3 separate regions of the Homo sapiens genome follow, and regions 2 and 3 are each linked to region 1. The links are contacts of gene promoters, found by promoter capture Hi-C in blood cells and fetal thymus (Javierre and others, 2016). All regions are on one chromosome and are shown on one strand. Each heading gives the region's core, a stretch centred on a gene start or on the middle of the fragment in contact. The rest is flanking DNA. Distances are from core to core; before and after follow the strand shown. Region 1 holds the start of RBM26 (RNA binding motif protein 26). Region 2 overlaps BORA (BORA aurora kinase A activator). Region 3 overlaps DIS3 (DIS3 exosome endoribonuclease and 3''-5'' exoribonuclease).

What was found. The method cuts DNA at HindIII sites, captures the fragments that hold promoters and counts their contacts. A CHiCAGO score of 5 or more calls a contact.
Region 2: a contact is called between a fragment that was not itself captured here and the fragment with the promoter of RBM26 in region 1, in 3 of 17 cell types (non-activated CD4 T cells, total CD4 T cells and naive CD8 T cells). The highest score is 7.8, in non-activated CD4 T cells.
Region 3: a contact is called between a fragment that was not itself captured here and the fragment with the promoter of RBM26 in region 1, in 1 of 17 cell types (total CD4 T cells). The highest score is 7.1, in total CD4 T cells.

The regions. Positions count from the first base shown.
Region 1 is chr13:79,404,018-79,408,080 of GRCh38, forward strand. RBM26 (RNA binding motif protein 26) reads right to left here and starts at 2,238. Exons shown (of 22, transcript NM_001366735.2): 1 at 1,687-2,238. The coding sequence starts at 1,757. It overlaps RBM26-AS1 (RBM26 antisense RNA 1), which reads left to right and starts at 2,292. Exons shown (of 7, transcript NR_038991.1): 1 at 2,292-2,460. RefSeq lists a silencer at 1,794-1,993 and enhancers at 1,903-2,894, 2,224-2,523. The HindIII fragment of the contact is 7,810 bases long and covers 1-3,751 here.
Region 2 is chr13:72,731,619-72,735,681 of GRCh38, forward strand. BORA (BORA aurora kinase A activator) reads left to right here. Exons shown (of 12, transcript NM_024808.5): 4 at 3,342-3,387. Among named protein-coding and RNA genes, the nearest start is that of BORA, 5.7 kb to the left of the region's middle. The HindIII fragment of the contact is 192 bases long and covers 2,000-2,191 here.
Region 3 is chr13:72,775,250-72,779,312 of GRCh38, forward strand. It overlaps DIS3 (DIS3 exosome endoribonuclease and 3''-5'' exoribonuclease), which reads right to left. Exons shown (of 21, transcript NM_014953.5): 3 at 2,938-3,131; 4 at 2,171-2,244; 5 at 676-843; 6 at 1-126. Among named protein-coding and RNA genes, the nearest start is that of DIS3, 4.6 kb to the right of the region's middle. The HindIII fragment of the contact is 7,790 bases long and covers 1-4,063 here.

The DNA of each region.
Region 1 (4,063 bases), core at 988-3,487:
CTATGAAATTTCCCACAATGTCATCGTCTTAAATACTATCTGCATGACTCCAGATTTCTCCAGTCCTGTCCTGAGTTTTAGACTCATATATTCAATGATCTGCTATCACACTTAGCTGTATCCCACAGACTTCATACTTACTGTATTTATTATTATCAAAACTAGCCATCCACTTTCCTTCTCCCCTTAACCTGTTCTCTGCCTTCTCTAATATCACCCATTCTGTTGCTTGGGTTATCTAAGGCACCACCCTTGATTTCCCTTTCCCTCATCTCCCGCATTTAATCCATTAATTTTACTTATGAAATGTATTTGGATCTGCCTGTCTCCACCATCACTCTAATGCAAACTAGCCACATCTCTGCCTACAACACACTTCTGAATAATCTTCTTACTTCCATTCTTGCCCTTTCAGTCTCTACAAAATAGGCAGAGTTAAAACAAAATTAAATCAGTCCTTGTCTGCTTTAAATCATCTCACGTCTTCCCATACATGATGTGGCCCCTACCTACTTGTCCAACTTGTTGCCTTTATATCCTCTCCCTCATCACAAGGCTCTTTCCAGCCACAGTGGCCTTTCTCTTCCTGAAACACACCACAATCACTTCTGCTACAGGGCCTTTCATTTGCTCTTCCTTTTGCAAGGAATGTTCTTTTCCAAGACTTTGACACACATGGTCCCTTCTCTTTAGATGTTACTCCAATGTCACCTTCTCTGAGAGTCCTTCCTTGACCAATGTGAAATAGCCCCCCTCATAATCACTTTTACATGATTCTCTATTATTACAATAGTCACAACTCTATTAATATCTGGATTTATTTATGTCTTGTCGATTTTAGAATTTAAAAGCTCTATCCCCAAAGCCTCCCGTAGTATACAGTAGGTACCTAATAACTTTATTAAATACGTGAATTTTCCCCATTGCATTATTGTAAATCAACCAATTCTGATTAAGCACTTTGGTCCATGTCATATTTTGTATTAACAAGTCGTCAAAACACTCCTTAAATTTTCCAATCTAAGACTATTTCAGCACTCTAACCGCAGCCCCCAACACAAAATCTATCTATAGCATCCCACTTAAAACTGCTAAATATTCCATATGGATGAAGATTCAATTTTCTTCCTCCTCTCCAAGCTAACGAACGCGTAGGCGGGAAAGGGGAATTTTACTGGCCACCTCAGCACCTGTTACATCTTCAATCAGTGAAGAGAGGTGCAGATGAGCCAGACAGCACATGGGAGACGTGGCCTTGCTTTCAGGAATTATATTTAGGTGAAACGTGAGTGATTTAAGCTAGAACTGCCCGAATCCCCAATAAAGGCCGTCTACTTCATTTAGAAAAACAAGGTAAAATAATCTGTAGGAAGTAAAATACAGTCGGTTTCACTAAAATAAACCGATTTTGAGGCCCCCGGAAAATATTGCGGGTGGGGGTTGGAGACGGTCTATATATAACGGGAAAACGAGAGCAGCTCAGCAATAAAATAAAGCTCGACTCAGGCTCTCGGGGGTATCCTGAATCTGGAAGCGAGGTGGACGAGGAGGAGAAGCCACAGAACCCTGGGACCTCCGTTCACCGCTTCGGCCTCCACCGCAGGCACTTGGGGAAACTGCACAGATCTCTGGGTCCGCCTATCTCCCACTGCCATCCCTGCAAAGAGATATCCCCCGGATACTCACATGGGCTCGAGAGTCTTGCTGAGCCAGGACTTGAGTGCCTCGAAGTTTTCAATGATCATTTTAGAAACCATCCACAGCGGCCCTAAGGCCCGTCACACTCCTCCGCCCGCCCAGGTCGCGGCCGCTACAGCCGCCGCTGCCCCCGCCCCCTCCTCCGCGCGCCGCCCGCGTGGGCCGCGGTGGGAGGCGCCGGTGGCAGGTTCCCGCGGGCCCCGGTCGGCGAACAGCTCTGCAAGGACCGCCGCAGGCCACAAGTGCACGGGGTGCCAGGAGCTCCCCGTCCCCGGCCCCCAGCCCGGGCTGAAACAGCAACGGTTTGCCCGGGCCCTCCCCCTTCCCTCTTCCCCAGCAAATCTACCCAGACCGGAAGCGCGACACGCGCTTAGACCCGAGCCTTCTCTCAGCCTCGGGACCAGGTGCTTGTTGGCTACGTCGAAAAGGCAAAAGTAAAGAAAGCGAAGGCGAAGGGCAGCTCAATGGGAACGATTCAGGGGGTCTTCCCGGCTCCCAGCACCCCCAAGAAGATGGCTGCCGGTAAATCTCGCGAGAATTGATGAAGTCTCGCGGTGGCTCCCGGAGCCTGCTGGGAGAGACGTAAGGTCGGCGGAGAATGCGCGGGTCGAGTGCTGTAGTTCGATTTTTGCGTGTGTGCGTTGCTTGCGGCCTTTGTGCCTTTTTATTCTTTGCTTACCTTTATGATATAAAGACCTTATTTCTTACAAGGAGGAAAAGACCGCTGACTTCAGAAACAGCGGGAACCCCAGCTCGTCCCCGGTAAGACGGCCGTGGCCTGTCAGCTGGAACGGTCCTGCCGGATGGATCGCTCTTTGAGAGCGTACACTCCCGCGTGCGCGACACCAGGCGGCCCGTAGGTTCCAGGTGCCGAGCACACTACCTCCTCAGTTTACCTAAGTGCCCTACCAGTATCATATTCTGTGTATGCTGTGATGTGAACGAGGTTTGTAAACACAGGCTGGTCTAATGGAGCCCAATGAGACCGCCAGAGGATTAGTGTCTTGTCCAACAGTACTTGACTTGCTGGTAGAGCCCTAATGACTGAGGGCTGCCCACAAGGGAAAGGTGAGAGAACCTTCACGTCTCTCAGGTAGTTTCCAGCCTGCACTTTCCCCCAGCTAAAGATAAGTTTTGTTATTTTTAAAATTCTCTTTATTTAGAGCAAATTCAGCCCTATCTCAGATCGGGAAATTATATAGTATCAAAAGAGAGAGTCTTCATATTAGCAACCCAAATAAATAAACTATTTTCCTGGGTGATCAAATAAGTTTGATTCCTGCTTGAGTTCTATTTAGATACTAGGTGGAATTTTACAAAGGGTCTACGTTCCATGAACTGTAATGGAATGAAAATATTCACAATCTAAAGACATTTTCAGTAAGTAGATCAATAAAAGCTCTTTATGAGAGACACCGATAGGCTAAATTGTTCTTAGGAACTCTTGAGTTTATAATTTGCTAGAGTGAAGTGTCTTTAAGGATTAGGTGGAAAGATTATGAACTACAAAGCAAGACATTTGTTTTAAAATACAGCATATAGAGTAGAATACAAATTAGAATCCAGCTACTGAATAACCAGGGTGTTGATTAAAGTGATTTAGCTGAGTGAAATAAACCAGACATGAAAGGACAAATATTATGATTCCACTTACATTAAGTACCTAGAGTAGTCAAAACTCCTAGAGACAGAAGGTGGAATGGTAGCAAGAGCAGGGGTGGAGAGGGTGCCCAGGAGAAGGGGAAATGAGGAGTTATATTTCAGTGGATAATAGAGTTTCAGTTTAGGATGATTTAGATTCTGGAGATGAGTGGTGTTGTGTGGGTTGCACAATATGAATGTACTTAATGCAGTGGACCATATACTTAATGAAAACGGTAGGTTTTATATGTATTTTACAATAAAAATTGTTTATAAATTTAATACTGCCGAAAGTTAAAATTATATTTGTTTAGTCTGTTTGTTGTAGCCTTGCCACAGGCTGACGCCACCAATATTTTCAACCTTATCACCAGCTACTCCATTACTCTGGCTCTCCACTTCAGCCTTCCAAAGCTTCTATCAAATACTGTATACCCCAGATAAACTGATTTGCTCACCCTCCCTTTCTCCAAACATTTGTTCACTTTATTTTCCACAGAGAACGCTTCTACTTCTTTCCCTGACTGCTCAAACTTTGCCCATCCATCTCTCATACCACTGTCACTGTCTTATTTAAAGTCTTTTATTCTTCCTAAATAATAGCAAAAGCCTTTTAATATCTTTGCCTTTTATGCTGACCTCCATCTCAGTTCATCTTCAGTTGCCCTCATCATCATTGCCTTTAATAGCAGTAATTCTAAAATTTTGATCTAATCATGTCACT
Region 2 (4,063 bases), core at 846-3,345, 6.7 Mb before region 1:
TCTGCTACTGAGGTGACAGCTCTGTACCCCTAGCACTCAGTTAAGAGAAGAACATTTTGAAATTTGCACTTTTCTACATGGTTGTGGCTTCTGCCATTAACTTGTTTCAGTTTGTCTTTTTGATGATTTGGGGTAAAGCAAAATGCTGTTTCATTGTTATCTATGTTTGGGGAAACCTAAAACCCCCTCAAAGAGTTACGTATGCACTGAATGGAAGGGTATCCATTAGCAACAGAGCGGTTTTTTAGACATCATCCAACTGTAACAATTCACTTGGAATCTGAATTACATTTTCTAGAATTCTACATATCACCCAGTGCAGTCTTATTTGTTGATGTGTTGTTTAGGTTTCAAGGCACTAATGTACTGCAGATTTAGTTTTTTATTACAAAGTGTAAGGTCCTATTATTCTTTTGTAGTTTTAGGGACTCTTGTTTATATGTTTTATAGTCTGATTTTTTAATATTTGAAAAAAATCAAATACATGGTATGACCAGATTTTAATTTGCTGTCCTAAGGTAGACATGTTGTTAGTCCAAAACAAAGGATAATCCTTTTCCCTTTGACTTAAGAATTCAGTCACACAACGTTGCACACATATTGAGATATTCTGGTAAATACTTACTGGCTTTTCTCCTCCATCTTCTCTTTGCTTGGTAACATGATGACCATTCAATCATAAAATTAATGTCCACCCAGAGTGTTAATAGGAAGGGAATAGAATGAGGATGAAGCATGAAAGGATTTTAACTTAAATTTAAATAATACCTTTGAGGCCAGGTGTGGTGGCTCACACCTGTAATCCCAGCATTTTGGGAGGCTGAGGCGGGCAGATCACTTGAGGTCATGAGTTCAAGACCAGGCTGGCCAACATAGTGAAACCCCATCTCTACTAAACATACAAAAACATTAGCCGGGCATGGTGGTGCACACCTGTAATCCCAGCTACTCGGGAGGCCGAGACAGGAGAATCGCTTGAACCCAGGAGGCAAAGGTTGCAGTGAGCTGAGATCATGCCATTGCACTCTAGCCTGGGGGACAGAGCAAGACTCCATCTCAAAAAAATAAAATAAATAAATAAGTAAATAAATAATACCTTTGAAAGAGAAGGTGAGATGAATATCTAAAAGCAAATGAGTCACAGTGACTAATTTTTTGTTTCACACGAACTTAATTATGCTTAATTATTTTGTCTCATTTCTTCAATATATTGAATGATGGACAATTATTATATTGATCAGTCAAGAGATACTTATTGAGTACTGTGAGGGACTGTAAGAAACACTGAAGAAGTACAAGATACTAAGAGTCAAGAGTCAAAAATATAATTAGACCAAAGTTGTAACACAGTGCTTCTGTTCTTACTACTAAATGATATATTGTCTGCAAAGGTTTATAAAGATAATCTTGGTGTCTCTTAGTACATAGATTTATCATATAGAAGAATGGAAAAGAGTGGGAAAATATTATAATTTAATTTAATAATATAATTCAATGAATGGTTATGGCTTCTACCAAGGATAGTCAATATATTCTTCACAGAGCATCTCGTTTCATCCTTAGAAACAAGCAGTGTCTTTCAGTATCTCTTCTTACATATTAGCCCTCTACTTCAATTCTTCCCATCCTTTTCATGCCACCATCCACACAGAAAATTGTAACTGAAAAGCATACCAGTGTAAGCAGGTGAGTCTTGGCCATGTAGGTGACCAGTCCTGAGGTCCCCTCTCCTTTGCCACCCTGCAAAGGCTCAACATTCAGGCCACACCTATACCTATATGCATCATACTGGTGTTCAGTGGTATGCTGGTCAGGATGCTCTCCCCTGTATGACTTCTTAGAATCTTGTTTGATCTGACTCTAGAGTATTTGGCCACAGTGATTTTTACAGTTTCCAGCAATCACCTGAGTATTTCATGTTCTTGAAGTCCCTCTGATGAAGTAGCAAAAGGTTTCTGAATGCAGTAATCCTAGTTCAGAGCTTACTTGCTATTTGCTAAGCTTGTTATGTGCTGCCATTTTGACCATGATAAGATGAAGAGAACCATTGATAAGATGAAGGCCATTTTGTTATCCTCAAAATGGCTACTGTTCAAGCTGGGATATGTGGGTTGACACTGTAGTTTATTTTCTCATACTTCTCCCACTTGAAAAATCTACTTAATTTCTGAAATGTATACATTCTCATATAAGCTTTATTAAGCCATGAGCAAGTCTATATGTGAAAAAAATTCACACCATGGAATACTATGCAGCCACAAAAAGCATGAGATCGCGTCCTTTGCATGGACATGGATGCAGCTGGAGGCCATTATTCTTAGCAAACTAATACAGGAACAGAAAACCAAACCCCTCATGTTCTCACTTATAAGTGGGAGCTAAATGATGAGAGCATGTGGACATATAGAGGGGAACAGCACACACTGGGGCCTGGTGGAGGGTGAGAGGAGGGAGATCAGGAAAAATAACTGATGGATTCTAGACTTAATACCTGGATGATTAAATAATCTGTACAACAAACCCCAGTGACACAAGTTACCTGTGTAACCTGCATTTGTACCCCTGAACTTAAAATAAAAGTTAAAGAAAAAATTCTGAGACAAAATAATTTTAAATTGTAAAAAAAAATATGTCTTACCAATTTACTGATGGAAGGCAAGGATTCTTTCCTGTAATGGAATAAAGAAGTGGTCCTAGAAAGCTAACTGCTGAGTCCTTGGCAAGTATATGCTTTGTGCTTGGACCCAAAATTTTATATTAAATCTTGTAGCTGAGAAGTTTATATAACAGTAATTGCAGATTGTATCAAAGTGAAAAAAAAATTCATTTGGAAAAAATGTTATATTGTCAGTGTTTTATTTCAGAGTTAATATTTTTGACTGTTTAGAACTGTGAACTATCCTCATCTATTTTACAGTAAAAGTTGATTCTAAAATTATTGCCATGATAAACTTGTTATAATTGAAGAGAAAAACTTTGGACAATTTTTAGATGTATGTTGAATTAAATACTTCTTAATTTGTATTAAGGGACAAAGTTTATCAAATTTATATTGTTAAAAGCAATTTAATATCAATGTAAGTCTTTTGAAATAAAGTATCATTGCATTCAAACTTTGAATGGAAAAGAGGGAGGTAAGCCTAACAGCTAACTGCTGAATTTCAGAATACTGCCTAAATGTTACTAAATGTTACAAGATACCACTAGTATTAATTATAAAGTGAGCTTAACATTTGCCAGTTTTCAATGAAGGGAGATTATTTATTTGAAAGGTTATTTTTTAAAATGTTCAATAAGCTTAAGTAATAGCATGGTTATTTTTCTTCTTTATCTTTGTATAGAATAGATAAAGATGTGGAAGACAAAAGACAAAAAGCCATTGAAGAGGTAACTTAAACTGTTACTGATCATTAAATCAGTTAAGGATCAATTCTGCATGTACATCACTTCTTTTAGGAAGACTTTCTTCAATTCCTTCACTGTCCTATCTCCCCTCCAAGCCCTTCACAGTCCCATCTATATAAAGCACCCTTCTGTACTGTCCTAAGACCAATAATTTCCAGCTATCCCAGTACCTTGCATAGCACTTGCATACTGTTGTAATGATCAGTTTAGTGTTTCTGTCCCCTAGACGCAATCTTTTTTGGCCAATACTGTACTTCATCCTTTCATTCTCAGGACCTAGCACAATTTGTCTTCCTTGTGCCTTCAAAATGTTGATTAGCACAAACTTTGTTTCAAGTTGGAGTTTATGTAGAGGAAGTCGAATATTCTCAGGCCTTCAGAGTCTAGATTGGCATTGGGAATGGCTTTGTCTTTTTTTGTTAATACTTTGGATTTTTAAGATATTCATGAAATAAAATCTCTTACTGTTAAACAGGAAAGGTATATCATAATGTAGGCTTTCTAAAAAATAAAAATAATTAAGTTTTTTGCTTTTTTATGTCTGTTGAATTGCCTTTCTTAGCATCTAAATAAGGTTATTATTATTATTATTTTTTGTTTTTTGAGACGGCGTTTCGTTCTTGTTGCCCAGGCTGGAGTGCAATGGCATGATCTCAGC
Region 3 (4,063 bases), core at 1,073-3,572, 6.6 Mb before region 1:
ATTTTGACCTTCATCATGTAAAACCACAGAAGATGGTGCTACCCACTGACTCTTGGGGAGAAGCTCCACAGCCACAATATCTTCGTGAACAGCTCTGTTTAAATGTTTAAGTCCCTGTAAGATTATCTGTTTAAAACAACAGAGGGCACGTGCCCAAATTATTTTTAATGGCAATATAATAAAGGGAAGATCATCTAACAGATATTTACATACACTCTGAATATCTCTATGGAATCTCTATTTCTCCTTTATAGATTTTCTTTCTCTATTGTGTCCCTAATTCCACAACTTTAATTTCTCAATACCAGGTAGAAAAAATGTAAGTCAGAAAACACAGGCTGTGTTCATGGCTCCATCATAACTTACACTGGTAACAAGAGACTTTGGAAAAATTATTTATGCTCTCTAAATCTCAAGTCCTGATTGGTCAAATAAGAGTACACTACCTAGTTTTTATAGGTTGGGTTGAATATTAAATGAAATGCCATGCGCAAAGATTTAAAAAACTACCTGACAAATTGTGAGCACTGCAAAAAAAAAAAGAAAAAAGTTACTATTTGCTTTAAAGTATGTGAAGCCTCATATGTTACACAAATAGTATTTACCATTAAGTGTTCATAATATATAAAATATCATCTTTATTTTAGTGTATAAGGAATTTATTTATATACTTGCCTCTTTATTTTCTTCATTGTCGCCATGAATCCATACTGTAGCTTCCAAGTAATTTTCCCTGCTAGCTCTAAATGTTCCTTGAAGGTATGTACCAGATTTTATGCCTTGCTGTAGCTTACTTAAGGGAAGATGCTCTGAAAATATTATTTTTCCACTTTCTATTTCATTCTATGAAAGAAGCAAACCAAAAGATGCCGCTAATAAGTCTTCTGTTCACTCAATACACAACTATTATTAATATCAGAGAATTTTTGAAATCTACATTATGATATACACAACTCTGAATAGGAGAGAAGATAGCAGTGTTTCTTATAGGCCAGTGCTAACAAAAACAGCTTTCTATGATGAAGGAAGTATTCATTTTGCGATCTCTAATATGGTAGCCACTAGACACAAGTTTCTCTTGGGCACTTGAAAGACAGATAGTACCACCAAGAAACTGAATTTTTAATACATATTAAATTTAAATAGTCATATATAACTAAGTGGCTACATATTAGGGCAATACTAAATCTGTATTTCAAAAATCAAACCCAACTTTTATCTTCTCATTTCCTTTTGGTTTCATAAAGTATCATAAAGGTAAGAAGGGATGACAGAAGTGTAAAGACTGGATTTATGTATAATGTCCTATCACTTAAAACCTATTTCTATAACAAGGGCTACCATTTATATTTACCATACCTATGTGCCAGGCACTAGGATGAAAATTGTATTAATGCTACAGTTATCATCTTATTTGATCCTTATAACAACACTATGAAGTTATTATTGCTAAACATTATATATTTATATATAAGAAAATGAATGCTCAGAATTTAATTATTCCCTTAGCACTCCTTCTCACATCAGCTATTGTAATGACTCCTTTACTCACCTCTCTGCCTCTAATCTTTCCTGGATAAAATGCTTAATGTTACACACTGACATGAGAGTGGTCTTACAAACAAATACCATTTCCAATCATTCTCTCCTGCTCCACCAATCCACATTCATATACCATTACTTTTTCTTAGCCTGACATATAAGGAAGGGATCTCAGAATCCTTTCCTCTTCATAGCAGCCCTTCAGGGAGATCTTTATAAATCAATTGAAAAATTACTAACCTACAGAATAAGTTCTAGGTCTTTACTATCTGGACACTCCCCTCCCTCTTCTTTCCTCTGTCTGCAGTGCCTGCCACTTCATTTGTCAGCAGCTACTCTTTATTCACAAATCAGCCATGGACTCCGTTCATTTTTTCCTCAACCAAACAGTGCTACCAGGTACCAGGCCCTACTCAGGTTAATGGGAATATATCTATTTTAGAAAGTTAACTCCTTTAGGAATGGCATTTCAATAAGCCTATGACATCCACTCCTGTTTATAACACAACTATTCCAAATCCAGCTTACCCACCGACATTCCAATTTTTAAATTTGGTAACTATATGCCTAATATTCCAAAGTGGCTATTTTAATATTTTTACTTTTCAAAAACAAAACAAAAACATACCCCTTCTTCAGACAAACAAGCAAGACGATCTATGAGTTCGGGGTTAGCAGTTAGGCTCTTTACATATTCTTCACCTGAAAAAATAAGTTTATGTTGTTTTTGATAAGTGTTTTTTCCTTAGATATGAAAAAAATGGATAGTCTTGTTTGCGACAGTATACACGTCATTCTTTCATTCATTGAGACACACTGAGAGTCTCACTCTGTCTCTCAGGCTGGAGTGCAGCGGCGCAATTACACATCACTACAGCCTAGAATCCCTGGGCTCAAGCTACCTTCCTGCCTTAGCCTCCCGAGTAGCTGGGACTATAGTTACATACTACCATGCACGGCTTTTTTTTTTTTTCCTGTAGAGCTATAGTCTCCCTATGTTGCCCAGGCTGGTCCTGAACTCCTGGTCTCAAGCAAGCCTCTTGCCCTGACCTCCCAAAGTGCTGGGATTACAGCACCTGGCCTCAATTTATTTAAAAAACAAAACCCAAAAATCTGTTGATGTGATCATACCTAAGCAGAAGCAGGGGTTCCAGTATATTTATGAGATTTCATTGCTAAACCAGTTGCAAATAGTGAGGGGAAAATTAACAGCCACTGGGCACAACATATTTAGGTTAAAAACTATGTGAAATTTAAAAATACAAAAATATCACATGAAGTTATATAGGACTACGAAAATACTAAATAGTAAAGTGAACATCTGACTATAGGCCTAATGATTATTTTTACACGCATTTGCAAACATGCACTAAGTACTTCTACATTTAGACTTACAAGTGAAAGCTGGTATTCCTTCTTCTATGGCTTTCTCTTTGTTTCTCCTGTCATTTGTTATGAAGATAACTTGCAGCTGGTTGTCTGCTGACATTTTTTTCAAATGTTCATTGTACCATTTTGCTGCTACTCGAATCGCTCTATCATTCCTGTCATTAGCATTTTCTCCCTGTTCTTGTTCTACATAGGTTTCTCTAAATGGAAAGAAAAAACGAAATAAAAGGAAATCAGTAGAAACAAGGATATGTGAAAACTCTTAGCACATAAATGCTTAACCACTAAACTAGAAAAAGTCAATGGTATATCTTTTCTCTTGAATGTATTCAGATGTACACCTCAGAGAAGAAATCAAGATTCTTATAATTAAGTTTTTAAGAAACAATTTGCTTGGAAAAGAAGAAAATTATGTTATTAAGGGGACAAGAAAAAGGCTAATACAATTTTATTTCCTAAAAAGAAAAATTCAAGATCAGAATTTATACTTTAGGTTGAGACACTAAATAATAGTTTGTTGACAAATTATAATACAATTTCACAGGTATGATAATCAGATTTCATTCAAACTGTAGGTTAATAGCAATTCCTAAAAGCTACAAATAGTATAATTAGATCATTTATAATCAGAATTCTACAGTCATTAATAAATAATGCATATAAATTATCCATGGTAAACACTAATAGCTGAAGCTATGTAGAGACTGAAAAGTCAGGTATATTAATAGATATTACGTATTTCTTCTATCTAAACTCCCAAGTATGTCAACACATTCATCTATTTCTTTAAATCTGTTCATCAAAGCCAGGTTTAAGTACAACAGCAAAGTTCACTACAATAGCTTCCAGTACTTAATGGTAATAGATTCAATTTAATAATTTGATTTATATTAATAGTTTTAGAATTATTTTATTCCTCATCGTTGAATGCACTTGCTAATGCTTTTTTTTTTTTTTTGAAACAGAGTCTTGCTCTGTAGCTCAGGCTGGAGTGCAGTGGCATGATCTCAGCTTACTGCAACCTCTACCTCCGGGTTCAAGTGATCCTCCCAACTCAGCCTCGCAAGTAGCTGGGACTAGAGGCATGTACCACCATAACCAGCTAATTTTTGTATTTTTAAGAGACAGGGAT